Regions from separate parts of the Homo sapiens genome. Here all the other regions are linked to region 3. Evidence: promoter capture Hi-C in human tissues and cell types (Jung and others, 2019). All regions are on one chromosome and are shown on one strand. The core of a region is centred on a gene start or on the middle of the fragment in contact, and the rest is flanking DNA. Distances in the headings are between cores, read along the strand shown.

Evidence for each region. Contacts are between HindIII fragments. The study calls those that stand out against the background at their distance.
Region 1: a contact is called between a fragment that was not itself captured here and the fragment with the promoter of SH3D19 in region 3, in 1 of the 25 tissues and cell types used here (aorta).
Region 2: a contact is called between a fragment that was not itself captured here and the fragment with the promoter of SH3D19 in region 3, in 2 of the 25 tissues and cell types used here (dorsolateral prefrontal cortex and thymus).
Region 4: a contact is called between a fragment that was not itself captured here and the fragment with the promoter of SH3D19 in region 3, in 10 of the 25 tissues and cell types used here (H1 embryonic stem cells, IMR-90 fibroblasts, dorsolateral prefrontal cortex and 7 more).
Region 5: a contact is called between a fragment that was not itself captured here and the fragment with the promoter of SH3D19 in region 3, in 2 of the 25 tissues and cell types used here (IMR-90 fibroblasts and mesendoderm cells).

Annotation. Positions count from the first base shown.
Region 1 is chr4:151,004,298-151,007,011 of GRCh38, forward strand. All of the region lies in intron 2 of LRBA (LPS responsive beige-like anchor protein), which reads right to left. Among named protein-coding and RNA genes, the nearest start is that of LRBA, 9.6 kb to the right of the region's middle. RefSeq lists an enhancer at 1-413. The HindIII fragment of the contact is 8,064 bases long and covers 1-2,714 here.
Region 2 is chr4:151,632,817-151,635,516 of GRCh38, forward strand. All of the region lies in intron 8 of FHIP1A (FHF complex subunit HOOK interacting protein 1A), which reads left to right. Among named protein-coding and RNA genes, the nearest start is that of GATB, 130 kb to the right of the region's middle. The HindIII fragment of the contact is 3,452 bases long and covers 1-2,700 here.
Region 3 is chr4:151,324,216-151,326,991 of GRCh38, forward strand. SH3D19 (SH3 domain containing 19) reads right to left here and starts at 1,390. Exons shown (of 20, transcript NM_001378122.1): 1 at 1,026-1,390. The coding sequence starts at 1,137. The HindIII fragment of the contact is 31,894 bases long and covers 1-2,776 here.
Region 4 is chr4:151,613,726-151,616,425 of GRCh38, forward strand. The region is part of intron 7 of FHIP1A (FHF complex subunit HOOK interacting protein 1A); the gene reads left to right. Among named protein-coding and RNA genes, the nearest start is that of GATB, 150 kb to the right of the region's middle. The HindIII fragment of the contact is 4,766 bases long and covers 1-2,700 here.
Region 5 is chr4:151,801,150-151,803,856 of GRCh38, forward strand. All of the region lies in intron 2 of LOC127898557 (a long non-coding RNA gene), which reads left to right. All of the region lies in intron 2 of LOC105377488 (a long non-coding RNA gene), which reads left to right. Among named protein-coding and RNA genes, the nearest start is that of GATB, 41 kb to the left of the region's middle. The HindIII fragment of the contact is 4,331 bases long and covers 1-2,707 here.

The DNA of each region.
Region 1 (2,714 bases), core at 141-2,640, 320 kb before region 3:
ATACTTTGGGGCCACTATTAGGTACAAATATGGGTCACTTGAATATAATCACTGCAATACTGCCGCAATCAATCTGATAACGGAGACGGCAACTGACTAACAGGCAGGTAGCATATACATACAGCATGATGCTGGACAAAGGGATGATTCACATCCTGGTGGGACAGAGAGTGATTTCATCACACTACTCAGAACAACATGCAAATTAAAACTTACTAATGGTTTATTTCTGAAATTTTACATTTAATATTCTCAGACCATGGTTAACGGAAGGTAATAGAAACTGGGAAAAGCTAACATGTGACTAAGGCAGGGTACTCTTGTAATGGACAGAAACTGACAAAAAGCAAAATATATTAAGTTACATAATATATTAGAAGATAAATCTGTTAAGAAATAAGGTAACGGCTGGGCGCGGTGGCTCACGCCTGTAATCCTAGCACTTTGGGAGGCCGAGGCAGGTGGATTGCCTGAGCTCAGGAGTTCAAGACCAGCCTGGGCAACACAGTGAAACCCCATCTCTACTCAAGTACAAAAAATTAGCCAGGCATGGCGGCATGAGCCTTGTAATCCCAGCTACTCGGGAGGCTGAAACAGGAGAATCACTTGAACCTGGGAGACAGGGGTTGGTTGCAATGAGCCAAGAGCATGCCATTGCACTCCAGCCTGGGCGACAGAGCGAGACTTCGACTCAAAAAAGAAAGAAAGAAGGTAGGGAAAAAAGATAAGAAGTGGAGGAGAGGGAAATAGTCAAGAAATAGTCAAGAAAGATGTTAAACTTACACAAACTAATCTACACAGGATTCCCACAAATAAAATCCCACAAAAATTTAGTTCAGAATCCAAGATTATAAAACACCCTGTAATGGCCGGGCACGGTGGCTCACGCCTGTAATCCAGCACTTTGGGAGGTCAAGGTGGGCGGATCATGAGGTCAAGAGTTCAAGACCAGCCTGGCCAACATAGTGAAAGCCTGTCTCTACTACAAATACAAAAAATTAGCCAGGGGTGGTGGCAGGCGCCTGTAATCCCAGTGAGGCTGAGACAGGAGAATCCCTTGAACCCGGGAGGCGGAGGTTGCAGTGAGCCAAGATCGCACTATTGCACTTCAGCCCAGACAACAGTACAAGACTCCAACTCAAAAAAAAAAAAAAAAAAAAAAAAAAACCCTGTATATACCACATTAGATGAGAGCTAATGAATGAATACTAGAAAACTATACAGAGTAGATTATAAGAGACTTTTGAAAATAATGACACTGTTCTTTTTTTTTTTGGAGACAGAGTCTTGCTCTGTTACCCAGGCTTTTTTTTTTTTTTTTTTTGGAGACGTAATCTCATTCTGTCACCCAAGCTGGAGCACAGTGGTGCAATCTCAGCTCACACCAACCTCCACCTCCCAGGTTCAAGCAATTCTCCTACCTCAGCCTCCCTAGTAACTGGGACTACAGGTGCCCGCCACCACGCCTGGCTAATTTTGTATTTTTTAGTAGAGAACATGTTGGCCAGGCTGGTCTCCAACTCCCGACCTCAGGTGATCCCACCCACCTCGGCCTCCCAAAGCACTGGGATTACAGACTTACAGACGTGAGCCACCATGCCCGGCAACACTGTTCTCTTAAGGGTAAAACAGACTAAAGTAATTCAAAATTGTACAATGAAAAATACAAACTGCCTAACAAATAACTTCATAGGAAACAAAATAATAAAGGAAATATGCATCAAGGTTTTAACAATATATCTTTTGCGGAAAAGAATAATAGGGCAGGGCATGGTGGCTCACACCTGTAATCTCAGCACTGCAGGAGGCCAAGGCAGGCGGATCACCTAAGGTCAGGAGTTCGGGACCAGCCTGGCCAATATGGCGAAACCCCGTCTCTACTAAAAATACAAAAATTAGCAGGGAGTGGTGGTCAGCTACTCGGGAAGCTGAGGCAGGAGAATCACTTGAACCCAGAGGCGGAGGCTGCCGTGAGCTGAGATCACGCCACTACACTGCAGTATGGGTGACAGAGGGAGACTCCGTCTCAAAAAAATAAAATTAAATAAAATAAAAATAAAAGAATAATAGGAACTAGGCTTCCTAAAGATTGTACTTTTATTTTAAAAATTAAGACATTTCCATTTAACACTTTTGAAGTATCAAAACACTTCAAAAAGTTCTGGAGATACAAAGATAAATAAAATACCTTATTGTACATCTATATAAGTATTATAAAACAAAAATGCATTGTGGACATTTCTGTTTCAACCATATAAAAACTATTTTAAAATATTTTCAAGAATATGTGTGTGAAAAGGGATGCTTTATAAAAAGTGAATATAATAGATTAGTTCAACTAGGTCAGTATGAGAAATAAAAAGCTTACTTAGTTTTTCTATTAATTCACAAACAGGAAAAAAAAATCTGATTTTCCAGTTCCCAAATGATTTCTCAGTTTAAAATAAATCAATTCAAAGGTCAACAAAACTGTATGCTTGCAGGAACCTAAATTATCAAGTCTGTCACTTCCAGGAAACTTTGAAGTTTTAAAATTTCACCAATTCACCCAAATTTCTTGTAATTATCATTAATATTAATATATAACCAATAATATCTACTCATGATAGCTAGTAAAATCCCAGCTTGCTTTTTTACAAAAATTGATACGCTGATCCTAAAATTCACATGGAAATGCAAAGGGCCCAGAATAGCCAAAACTGTCTTGAAAAGGA
Region 2 (2,700 bases), core at 136-2,635, 310 kb after region 3:
GCAGTGAAAGCAGTACTAAGAGGGAATTTTATAGCTGTAAACACTTAGGTTAAAAAAGAAAATCTTGAAGCAACAACCTAACTATACATCTTCAGGAACTAGACAAAGAAGAATGAACTAAACTCAAAGTTAGCAGAAGGAAGGAAATGATAAAGATCAGAGCAAAAATCAATGAAATAAAGAATAGAAAAACCAATGAAACCAAGACTTGGTTTTTTAAAACAACAGCAATAATATTGATTGACCATTAGCTGGATTAACTAAGAAAAAAGAGAGATGACTCAAATAACTAAAATCAGAAATGAGAGAGGCGACATTACACCTTATGCCACAGAAATAAAAAAGAGCATACCACAAACAATTATACACCAACAAACTGGATGACCTAGAGGACCTAGATACATTCTTAGAAACATATAGCCTATCAAGGCTGAATCATGAAGAAATAAAAAAAAATCTGAACAGACTTGCCTCAAGTAAGGAGATCAAAACTGTAATGATAATTGAAAAATCTTAAAGAAAAACCCAGGACCAGATGGCTTCACTCTAGTGGTCTACCAAACATGTAAAGAAGAATTAACATCAGTCCTCCTTGAACTCCTAAAAACCTGAAGATCCAGGAACATTTTCAAACTAATTTTATGAGGCCAGTGTTGCCCTAATACCAAAACTAGACAAAGATACTTCAAGAAAACTAGAGGCCAGTATCCCTGATGACTGTTGATGCAAAAATCTTTAACAAAATACTAGCAAAAAGCATTAAACAGCACATGGTAAGGATTGTATAACATGACCAAGTGTGACTTATTCCTAGAATGCAATGATACTTCACCATATGAAAGTCAGTCAGTGTAATATACCACATTAACAGAATGAAGGACAAAACCCACAGCGTCATCTCAATTGATACAGAAAAGGCGCTTGACAAATTCCACACCCTTTCATGATAAAAGCACTCAACAAACTAGAAATATAAAGAAACAACTACAACATATTAAAGGCCTTATATGAAAAGCCCGCAGCTAACATCTTACTCAATGGTGAAAGACTAAAAGCTTTTTCTCTGAAATCAGGAACAAGGCAAGGATGCCCACTTAGAGGTCCTAGCCAGAGCAATTAGGCAAGAGAAAGAAATAGAAAGCATTTAAATTGGATAGAAAGAAGTTAAATTGTGTCTGTTTGTAGACAACATAATCATATATATAGAAAACCCTAAAGATGTCACCAAAAAACTGTTAGAACTAACAAGCGAGTTCAGTAAAGTTACAGGATACAAAGTCAACGCACATAAGTAATTTCTATATATTAACTATGAACAATTCGAAAAGGAAATTTTAAAAAGTTCTTTATAATAGCATCAAAAAGAATAAAATACTTAGGAATAAACTTAACTGAGGAGGTGAAAGACTTGTGCACTGAAAACTACAAAACATTGAAAGAAATGAAAGAAGAACAAATAGAAAGACATTCCGTGTTCATGGATTGAAAAACTTATTTTCATTAAAATGGCCATATTACTCAAAAGCAATCTACAGATTCCATGCAATTTGTAACAAAATCCCAATGGCATTTTTTGGGCAGAAATAGAAAAAAAATCCCAAAATTTATATGAAATCTCAAGGGACTCTGAATAGCTGAAATAATATTGAAAAAGAAGGAAAAAGTTGGAGAGCTCACATTTCCTTAAAACATATTACAAAGCTATAGTAATAAAAAACAGTGTGGGACTAGCATAAAGACCAATGAAACAGAATAAGAAACAGAATGAAACAGAAATGAACCGTTGTATTATGGTCAAATGATCTTTGACAAGGGTGCCAAGACTACACAATAGGAAAGGACGGTTTCATCAACAAATGGTAATGGTAAAACTGGATATCCACATGCAAAAGAATGAAGTTGAACCCTTACTTTACACCGTATAAAAAAATTAACTCAAAATGTATCAAAGACCTAAACATGAGATCTGAAACTACAAAACTCCTAGAAGAAAACATGGAGGAAAACTTCATAGCAATGGATTTTGTAATAATTTCTTGGATATGACACCAGAAGCGTAGGGAAAAATAAGACAGATGGGAGTACATCAAACTTAACAACTTAGGCGTATCAAATGAAATAATCAACAAGATGAAAGGGCAACCTACAGAATGGGAGAAAATATTTATGAGTCATATATCTGATAGGGGGTAGTATCCAGAATATATAAAAAGTTCTGTAACTCACCACCAACCAAAAACCCAAATAATCTAACTTAAAAATAAACAAAGTACTTGAATATTTCTATGAAGAAGACTTACAAAGGACCAAAAAATATATGAAAAGATTAGAGAAGTACAAATCAAAACCACAATGAGATATTATCTCATATTCATTAGGGTGGCCACTATCCAAAAAACAGAAAAAATTAGTGTTGGTGAGAATGTGGAAATACTGGAACCTTTGTGTCTTGTTTATGGGAATGTAAAGTGGTGCAGCTATTATGGAAAACAGCATGGAGGTTTCCCAAGAAATTAAACATAGGTTTAGTACATTATCCAGCAATCCCACTTCTGGGTATATATCTAAAAGAATTTAAAGCACGATCTTGAACAGATATTTGTACACCCATGTTCATTGCAGCATCATTCACAATAGCCAAGAGGTTGAAGCAACCTAGATTGTCCATTGATGGATGAATGGATAAGAGAGTATGTTATA
Region 3 (2,776 bases), core at 140-2,639:
CATCCTACTTTCTACCCTCCATTTGTTCCGCACAGATACAATATCTTCTCTATTTTTCCAACTTTCTCTTAGTGGTTAAGGGAGTCACACAGAAAAGCTTCTCCACTTCATGGAATATTCGCTATATTCCACTTTATAATGAGGCTCTCAGTGAATCGTTCTCCTCCGACTCTCTCACTTCCCTATCTCCCTTTTGTTGCCAGTCCCCCTAGGTTTGTTCTTCCCTCTTGTTTTCAGATAACTCGGATTACCCAGTTGGAACCAAAGGCCAAAGAATGTCCTCTCTATTATGTTTGATTGAAAAGCCGCCCGGAAGAGGGAAGGGGTGTGGATCTACACTTATTCACTCTTTCACTAATGTGCCAAACTATTTGATCCGTGCCGCTTTTGTGTACCCAAAACACAGTATCATAAAAGTAATTACAGGCCCGAAAATGATTCTCAGCCCAAATGAATGGCCTTTTGGAATGCTATATTCTGGACTTCTCTTTGCGTGGGGGAGGGTCTCACAACTAACGAAAACAAGTCCTACAGAAAACTGGTGAGCTCGGCGGCTGGGGGAGGGAGGGAGGGGGGTCACAGGTCCGAAGTGCAAGGGACGCCGAAACAGGACTTGCCTCAGTTATGAGCACGTGCTCTGACCTGGCTGCGGCGGCGCAGGCAAACCCCTCGGAAGGTGTCGTTGTCCACCGAGACGGCCATTGACCTCTGACTCATCCAGAGATAAGTCATCAACCAGGCCACAAGTCCCAAGCCAGCAGCTCCTGGATTTAGTGTGCACGGAAAATTTGAGTTTCAGCTGTACGACCACTAGCAGTTAAAGACGGGTCTGAATTTCCTCGGGCTCGGCCGGAAAGTGAGGATGGCGATGGAAATGCCACCCTCCCCGAGTCTGGCCTCTGAGAGTTAAAGAAGCCGGTCCCATCCCGGCGCGTGAAGGAGCTGCCGCTGTGTGGGGCAGGACCCGAGCGGCCCCAGAGCGCGCAGCTCTGGGTCCCCGCCGCCCCGTCCCCCGCGCCTCTCACCTGCGGCCGAGTGGCCCGAGAGCGCACGGCCCCGGGCGCGGCGCTGGCCACCAAGTTCGCGGCGCTCGCGTAGCTCTTCCTCCTCGTCCTCCCGCCGCCGGCCCTCAGCCATGGGCGAGGCGCGGGGCGCAGCCGCGGGATGGCCAGCGAGCTGCGGCCCCGGCGCCCCAGAACGCCTGCACCCGGCGCCCCACGCCACCGCCCTCGGGCCGGGGGGAAGGCGGCTCCCGGAGAGGAGGCGTCGGCGGCGGCTGTGGAAATGGCCACCTCCGCGAACTCCACCTGCAGCCGGCCGGGCAGCGGCAGGGCGCGGGCCGAGCCGATTCCCCGCCTCCTTGCGGCGTCCCGGCGGCCTCTTAATCCCTGGCCTTTCCCACTCCCACTCCCGCTCTCTTCCCCCTTCCTCTTTGCCTTCCCCGCCCCGTAGAGCTCCACCGCGGATCGGGCGGGTTCGGGGCTGGCCTCGCCTCCTCAGGGAGGGGTTATCGGCCCCTAAGGCCGCCCCACAGCCACACACGCTGGAAACACCAGCTCGACCCAAACAAACGTGTGCAAAATAAATAAACGGGATAGGAAGAGGGGAAAGAGGAGGTGGCCTGGCCTCTTCCTGCCTTTTCACGATATTCCAGTGTCAACAGGAAACCCATTTGTTTGACACTTAAACAAAAAGAGGAGGAACCCGACCGGGGCCGAACTGGGAGAGATGGGACAGCTGGGAGCTGCTGAACTTTGGAACAAACTTGGCTTGGAGTTGGGTCGAGCCTCTGCAATGCACACTTTTTTCTTTCCCTCTCTTTTCGCCCTTAAAAACCTAGACTTGCGGGAGCACAGAGGATTTTTAGGGCAGTGAAACTACTATGCGTATGATTCTGTAATAGCGGATGCCTTTGTCCAAGCCCAAAGAATGTACAAAACCAAGAGTGAACCGCAATGTAAACTATAGACTTTGGGTGATTATGAGGTGTCAATGTGGGTTCATCAATTGTAGCAACTGTGGCACTCTGGTGGGGGATGTTGATAATGGGGGAGGCTATGCATGTGTGGGAGCAGGGGGTACATGGGAAATCTCTGTACCTTTAGCTCAATTTTGCTGTGAACCTAAAACTGTTCTTAAAAATAGTCTAGTAAGACTGGAAGCGGTGGCTCATGCCTGTAATCCCAGCCCTTTGGGAGGTCGAGGCGGGCAGATCACGAGGTCAGGATATCGAGACCATCCTGGCTAACACGGTGAAACCCCGTCTTTACTAAAAATACAAAAAAAAAAAAAAATAGCCAGGCGTGGTGGCGGGCGCCTGTAGTCCCAGCTACTCGGGAGGCTGAGGCAAGAGACTGGCCTGAACCCAGGAGGCAGAGCTTGCAGTGAACGGAGATCGCACCACTGCACTCCAGCCTGGGCAACAGAGCGAGAGTCCTTCTCGAAAAAAAAAAAAAGTCTAATAAAAATGTTTAATAATAAATCAAGCCTCACTGTATTCCAGTTCATTTAGGGCTAGGATATGGCTACAATTCCTAGAAGAACAGGAAGAAATGTGTTAAAGAGACCCATACGTGATTATTTGTAGAGAGGCAACTAGGGGAAGTGGAGAGACCACTGGCTCTGGAGTCAGAAACTGTAATTTGAAGCACTTAGCTGTGTGAGCTACCCCTAAGAAAGTTTTTCAAAGCTGGAAAGAACCGTGTAACCAAAGTTGTGTGTACCTGCACAATACACATCTTAGGTTCAGTAGGTGCACGTACTTACTTTCACACAG
Region 4 (2,700 bases), core at 125-2,624, 290 kb after region 3:
ACAAGGGATGCCTGGCACTAGACCTGGAGATAATTATTTAACTGGATCAGGATAGGGCATGAGCATGGGTATTTTTAACTAACTCCCCAGGTGATTCTAACATGGAACTTGGGTTGAGAACCACTGCCACAAGATATTCTTAAAAATGTTTTGCAGGCTGGATGCGGTGGCTCATGCTTGTAATCCCAGCACTTTGGGAGGCTGAGGTGGGTGGATCACCTGAGGTCAGGAGTTTGAGACCAGCCTGGCTAATATGGTGAAACCCTGTCCCTACTAAAAATACAAAACTTAGCTGGGTGTGGTGGCGCACGCCTGTAGTCTGAGCTACTCGGGAGGATGAGGCACGAGAATCACTTGAACGTAGGAGGTGGAGGTTGCCGTGAGCTGAGATTGTGCCATTGCACTCTAGCCTGGGTGACAGAGCAAGACTCCATCTCAAAAAAAAAAAAAAAGTTTTATAAGGCCAGGCATGCTGGCTCATGCCTCTAATCCCAGCACTTTGGGAGGCCGAGGCAGGAGGATTGCTTGAGCCAAGGAGTTTAAGACCATCCTGGGCAACATGATGAAACCCTGTCTCTACAAAAGATACAAAAATCACCCAGGTGTGGTGGCATGCACCTGTAGTCCCAGCTACTCGGGAGGCTGACGTGAGAGATTTGCTTGACCCTGGGACCTCGAGGCTACAGTAAGCGGTGATCACGCCACTGTACTCCAGTCTGAGCCACGGTGTGAGACTCTGTCTCAAAAAAAAAAAAAAAAAAGTTTTGTGAACCTTGAATTTCAAATCAAGTTTGGCAGTCTGGTGTATATTTTCTGGCTTTTAAATTATTTGAATATTGGAGATCCATATTTGATAACCAGTATTCTCCTGGGGCCCAGGGAGCAGGAATTGCACTGTTTTGTGATTAGAGTAATGAAGTTATTATTGTGTCTAAATGACTCCATTTTTACATCTCTCAGAGGTGCTGGTGGAGTCAGTCCCTGTATATGACCCAGGTTTGAGGAATGTGAGTACTTTCAGGGATTGCCAGGAGCGGTAAGGGCCAGAAGTTAATGCTTCTCTGAGTGGCAGCTTAATGTATTGTCATAATTGTACGCATCTGAGAGCATTGATTCTATATTGTTGGCCCTTGTCCCAGTGACAGTAGGAAAGTGGGAGTCTTTCACATAAAGCTTTTTTCCCCCTCTTATCATTTTAATAATGAATTTCACCTCTTTCTGTGGTTTCCAGGAGTAGGGTGCTCTGTGAGTTCTCTGCAGAAGCTGTTTTCTGCAGTAAAGTCCTGATCTGTCACTGGGAACAGCTTTCTTCTGACAAATGTAGCTGAATTGGTTGGCAGAAGGATGGCAGGGAGGTAAAAGGGCAGGGAGTGGTTATAAATCCTCTAAAACGCCATCAATTGAACTCTTACAATGGGAGACAGTGTCTTTGACGACGTGTTCCAAATGGTTGATACAGATATTCAATTTCAAAGGATTTCTGCTGTGTTTTCAGAGGGCAGGGGACAAAAATGCCAGGAAATTGTTAGAATTCTTGTAAAAACCATGAAATTTATTATCAGGTAGACTTAGGTTTGTGTCTGGCTTCTGCCACTTACTGTGTGCTTCTAGGGCAAAAGTTTGAGCCTCACTTTTCTTAGCTGTAAGATGAGAATCCTAATACCTACCTACCATTTTACTCTATCAAGGTGAATTAATTTGTATAATACATGTAAAACATCTAATACAATATTTGGCACAGAGCTGGTACTTCATAAATGGTAGCTATTTCTGGAACTACTATTAATAGTGGTAGTAATTGATGATAATGGCCTGTATGTCCACTTAGCCTTTGGTGGGGATGGCAAGGGGGTGTTGACAGAGGCTCATCTGGGAAGGGTATACTCAGAATTTTCATCCTCACATAGTCAACCTGTTATAATTTAGAGTCTCATCACATATTAATCCTTTAAAATGCAGTCACTCTCTAGAATAGTTCATTTCACTGATTACTCATTTTGTGTACATCCTGCTGTTTAACTCAGAGGGCTTACAATACAGATTTTTTATGTAAACAGTGTGGACAGGGGGTTAGTAGAGGAGAGGGGAAAATATAATTTGGGGATTACTTTGGCCATAAGTCACACCTGGTGTCATGGTTTGGTGTGGAGTTTGGACACCCAGAAAAGGAAAGTTTAGATTATTGGGAAGTTGGGAAGAGGAGATGCCAGAATGGGTGACAGGAGGGTGGTAGGGACCCAACTACAATTTAGAATTTCCTGTGCAGGGTTCTCTGTTAGGATTGCCCGTGTGTTGCCATGAGTTTGTCTTGGTGTCCCTTCTGTCATTTGCCATCAGTTGGCAGTGTCTAGAATACAGTTCCATTTCATTGAAGCACTCAGTCTAGAGTATAAAGCATTTATGTGAATCAGTGGAAACTGAATTTGTACGGCTGAGGATCTGTACTGCAGTTTCAGAAAAGTCAGTATAGTTTAATTGAGGTATAAAGGGCTCTCCTCCCCATCTGAGTTGTGACAAGTTGAGAAATACAAAAAATGAGGCAGATGGAAGATCAAAACACCATCTTTATTACCAGTAAAACTGTTGCCAGAGAATAGGGTTTACTCCTGTGGGCAAACATTCCCAATATTTAACCCTAGAATTAGACAGACACTCACCCAGACACATTATAGAACCTGTGGTGGGGAAGAGCAGAGACAA
Region 5 (2,707 bases), core at 102-2,601, 480 kb after region 3:
TGAGACCCTTGGAGACAGAACTGTAGAGATCATCTAGCCCAACTCATTGAGGAAACGGAGGTCCTGATGACTACTGTCCACAGGGGCCGTGTGGATGCTCTGGGTTTTCGCTTAAAGAAGTGACAAGTTAAGGAACCATATATATTTTGTAGAGAAAAAGGTCTTGAAATGGTAGTGGCCAATTTTCAAAAATTTCAAATACATAGCATATCCCAGAGAATGAGGATATGCTATATTTTTAGACAAAGTATGCTAAGTCACTACTGATCAAACAATCACTGGAATGACTTGACAAGAGGAACAGAGTGCCACTTATCTGAATTCTCAGCCAAATGGGAGGATGTTTCTTTTCCTTTATAGGCTTATTGTTAAAAGGTGTTTTGTACAACCGAATAATTTCCCTCTAAAGAAATAAAAGAAATCCTGGGAACCAGTAAGATTCATGACTCCTGCAAAATCCTAAATTTCCCTCAATAATTTCCCTTTTCTAAAAAGAAAAAAAAGTCGCTGGATGACCAAGATTGTTCTAAATTCCTGGGTTGGTATTTAGGCTCACGGAGTAGTTTCTTCAGTTGAGGTTTCTGAGCATCTTCTCAGGAAGATGGCGCTGCCTCAGACTTTCCCAGCACAGTGCCCCTAGTGGCAGAAGAGAAGGTTGCGTGCTGCTGGGCTCTAGCTCTAAATGTACCTGAAAATACTTTTTCTTGAATTCTCCTCTTAATCTTTAAAATTTATGTTAACCTTTCCTTCTGCTCTATGATATATTCATAATTGTTTTAAAATAAAATATAATGTTTTAGATTATTCATCACTTACGGGGATAGTCAAGGCTATCCCCGTTTCCCCCTCCCCTCCCCTCCCCTCCGTCTAATTACTGGACATCTTTGAAACACTTGACAAAATCAATTATTTTTTAAATTTTAGATTAAATTATTTTCGGCAAACGTTTTAAGTCCCTCCCCTTTGACCTCCGTGGGACGAATATACAGTCATATACTACATAACAACCTTTCTGTCAACAACAGACCACATATAGAATGGTGGTCCCATAAGATTATAATGAAGCTAAAACATTCCCACCACCTACAGAGGTTGTAGCCGTGGGAAAGTCGTAGCACAATGCATTACTCACGTGTTTGTGGTGATGCTAGTGTAAACAAACCTGCTGTGCTGCCAGCCACATGAAAGTCTAGCATATGCAATTATGTACAGTATGTAAAACTTGATCATAATAATAAACTATGTTACTGGTTTATATATTTACTACACTATACTTTTAATCGTTATTTTAGGGTATACTCCTCCTACTTAGAAAAAAGTTAGCTACAAAATAGCCTCAGGCAGTTACTTCAGGAGCTATTCTAGAAGAAGGCATTGTTAGCATGGGTGATGACAGTTCCATGCTGCCCCTGAAGACCTGCCAGTGGGACAAGATGTGGAGGTGGAAGACAGTGAGATTCATTGTCCTTACTCTGTGTAGGCCTAAGCTAGTCTGTGTTTGTATCTTAGTTTTTAACAAAAAAGTTTAAAATGTAAAGAAAATACATAATTTTAAAAATAGAAAAATGCTTTTAAAATAGTATATAAAGAAAATATATTTCTCAGACATTGGTACAATGTGTTTGTGTTTTAAGTGTTATTACAAAAGAGACAAAAAGCTTTTAACAATTTTAAAATGTATAAAGTAAAATAGTTACAGTAAGCTGAGGTTAATTTATTATTGAAGGCTGTAAGTTAATTTATTATTTTCTAGATAAATGTAATGTAGCTTACGTCTACAGAGTTTATAAAGATTACAGTAGTGTGCAGTAATGTCCCAGGCCTTCACATTCACTCACCACTCACTCACTGACTCACAGAGCAACTTCCAGTCCTGCAAGCTCCATTCATGGTATAAATGCCCTATACAGGTGCACCATTTTAAATTTTTTATAGTGTACCCTTACTGTAGCTTTTCCATGTTTAGGTATATGTAGACACCCAATACTTAGCATGGTGTTGCCACTGCCTACAGTATTCAGTACAGTATCATGCTGTATAGGTTTGAAGCCTAGGAGCAATGGGCTATTTCATATAGCCCAGTGTAGTGGGCTATACCATCTAGCTTTGTGTAAGTACACTTGTGTTAGGCCGTTCTTGTGTTGCTATAAAGAAATACCTGAGACTGGGTAATTTAATAAGAAAAGAGGTTTAATTGCTCATAGTTTTGCAGGCTGTACAGGAAGAATGTGCCAGCATCTGCTCAGCTTCTCGGGAGGCCTTGGGGAGCTTTTACTCATCTATTTTTATCAGCTGACTGAACACGTCTAAGCAAATACTTGGCGGCACCTCAAAGTTAAGTGTCCAAAACTGAACTCATTATGTTCTCCACAAAATCTGCTTCTCCTCCTGTATTCCCAATCTTAACACAACCATCTTCCCAGCCACCCATGTTAACAACTTTGAGGATATATTTGACCTCTCCTCCTCATTTCCCAAGCCTAGTCACCAAAATCCTGCTGAATCTAGTTCTAAAACATACAGAAAAACCTTTTAGCTAGTCCAGGACCACACCATCTCTTGCTTGGGCTTTGCTTAGCTCAGGTCACTATAACAAAATACCATAGAATGGGAGGTTTAAATAATAGACATTTATTTCTACAGTTCTGGAGACTGGGAGGTCCAAGATAAAGATGCAGAAAGACTTGGTTCTTGGTGAGGGCCTTCT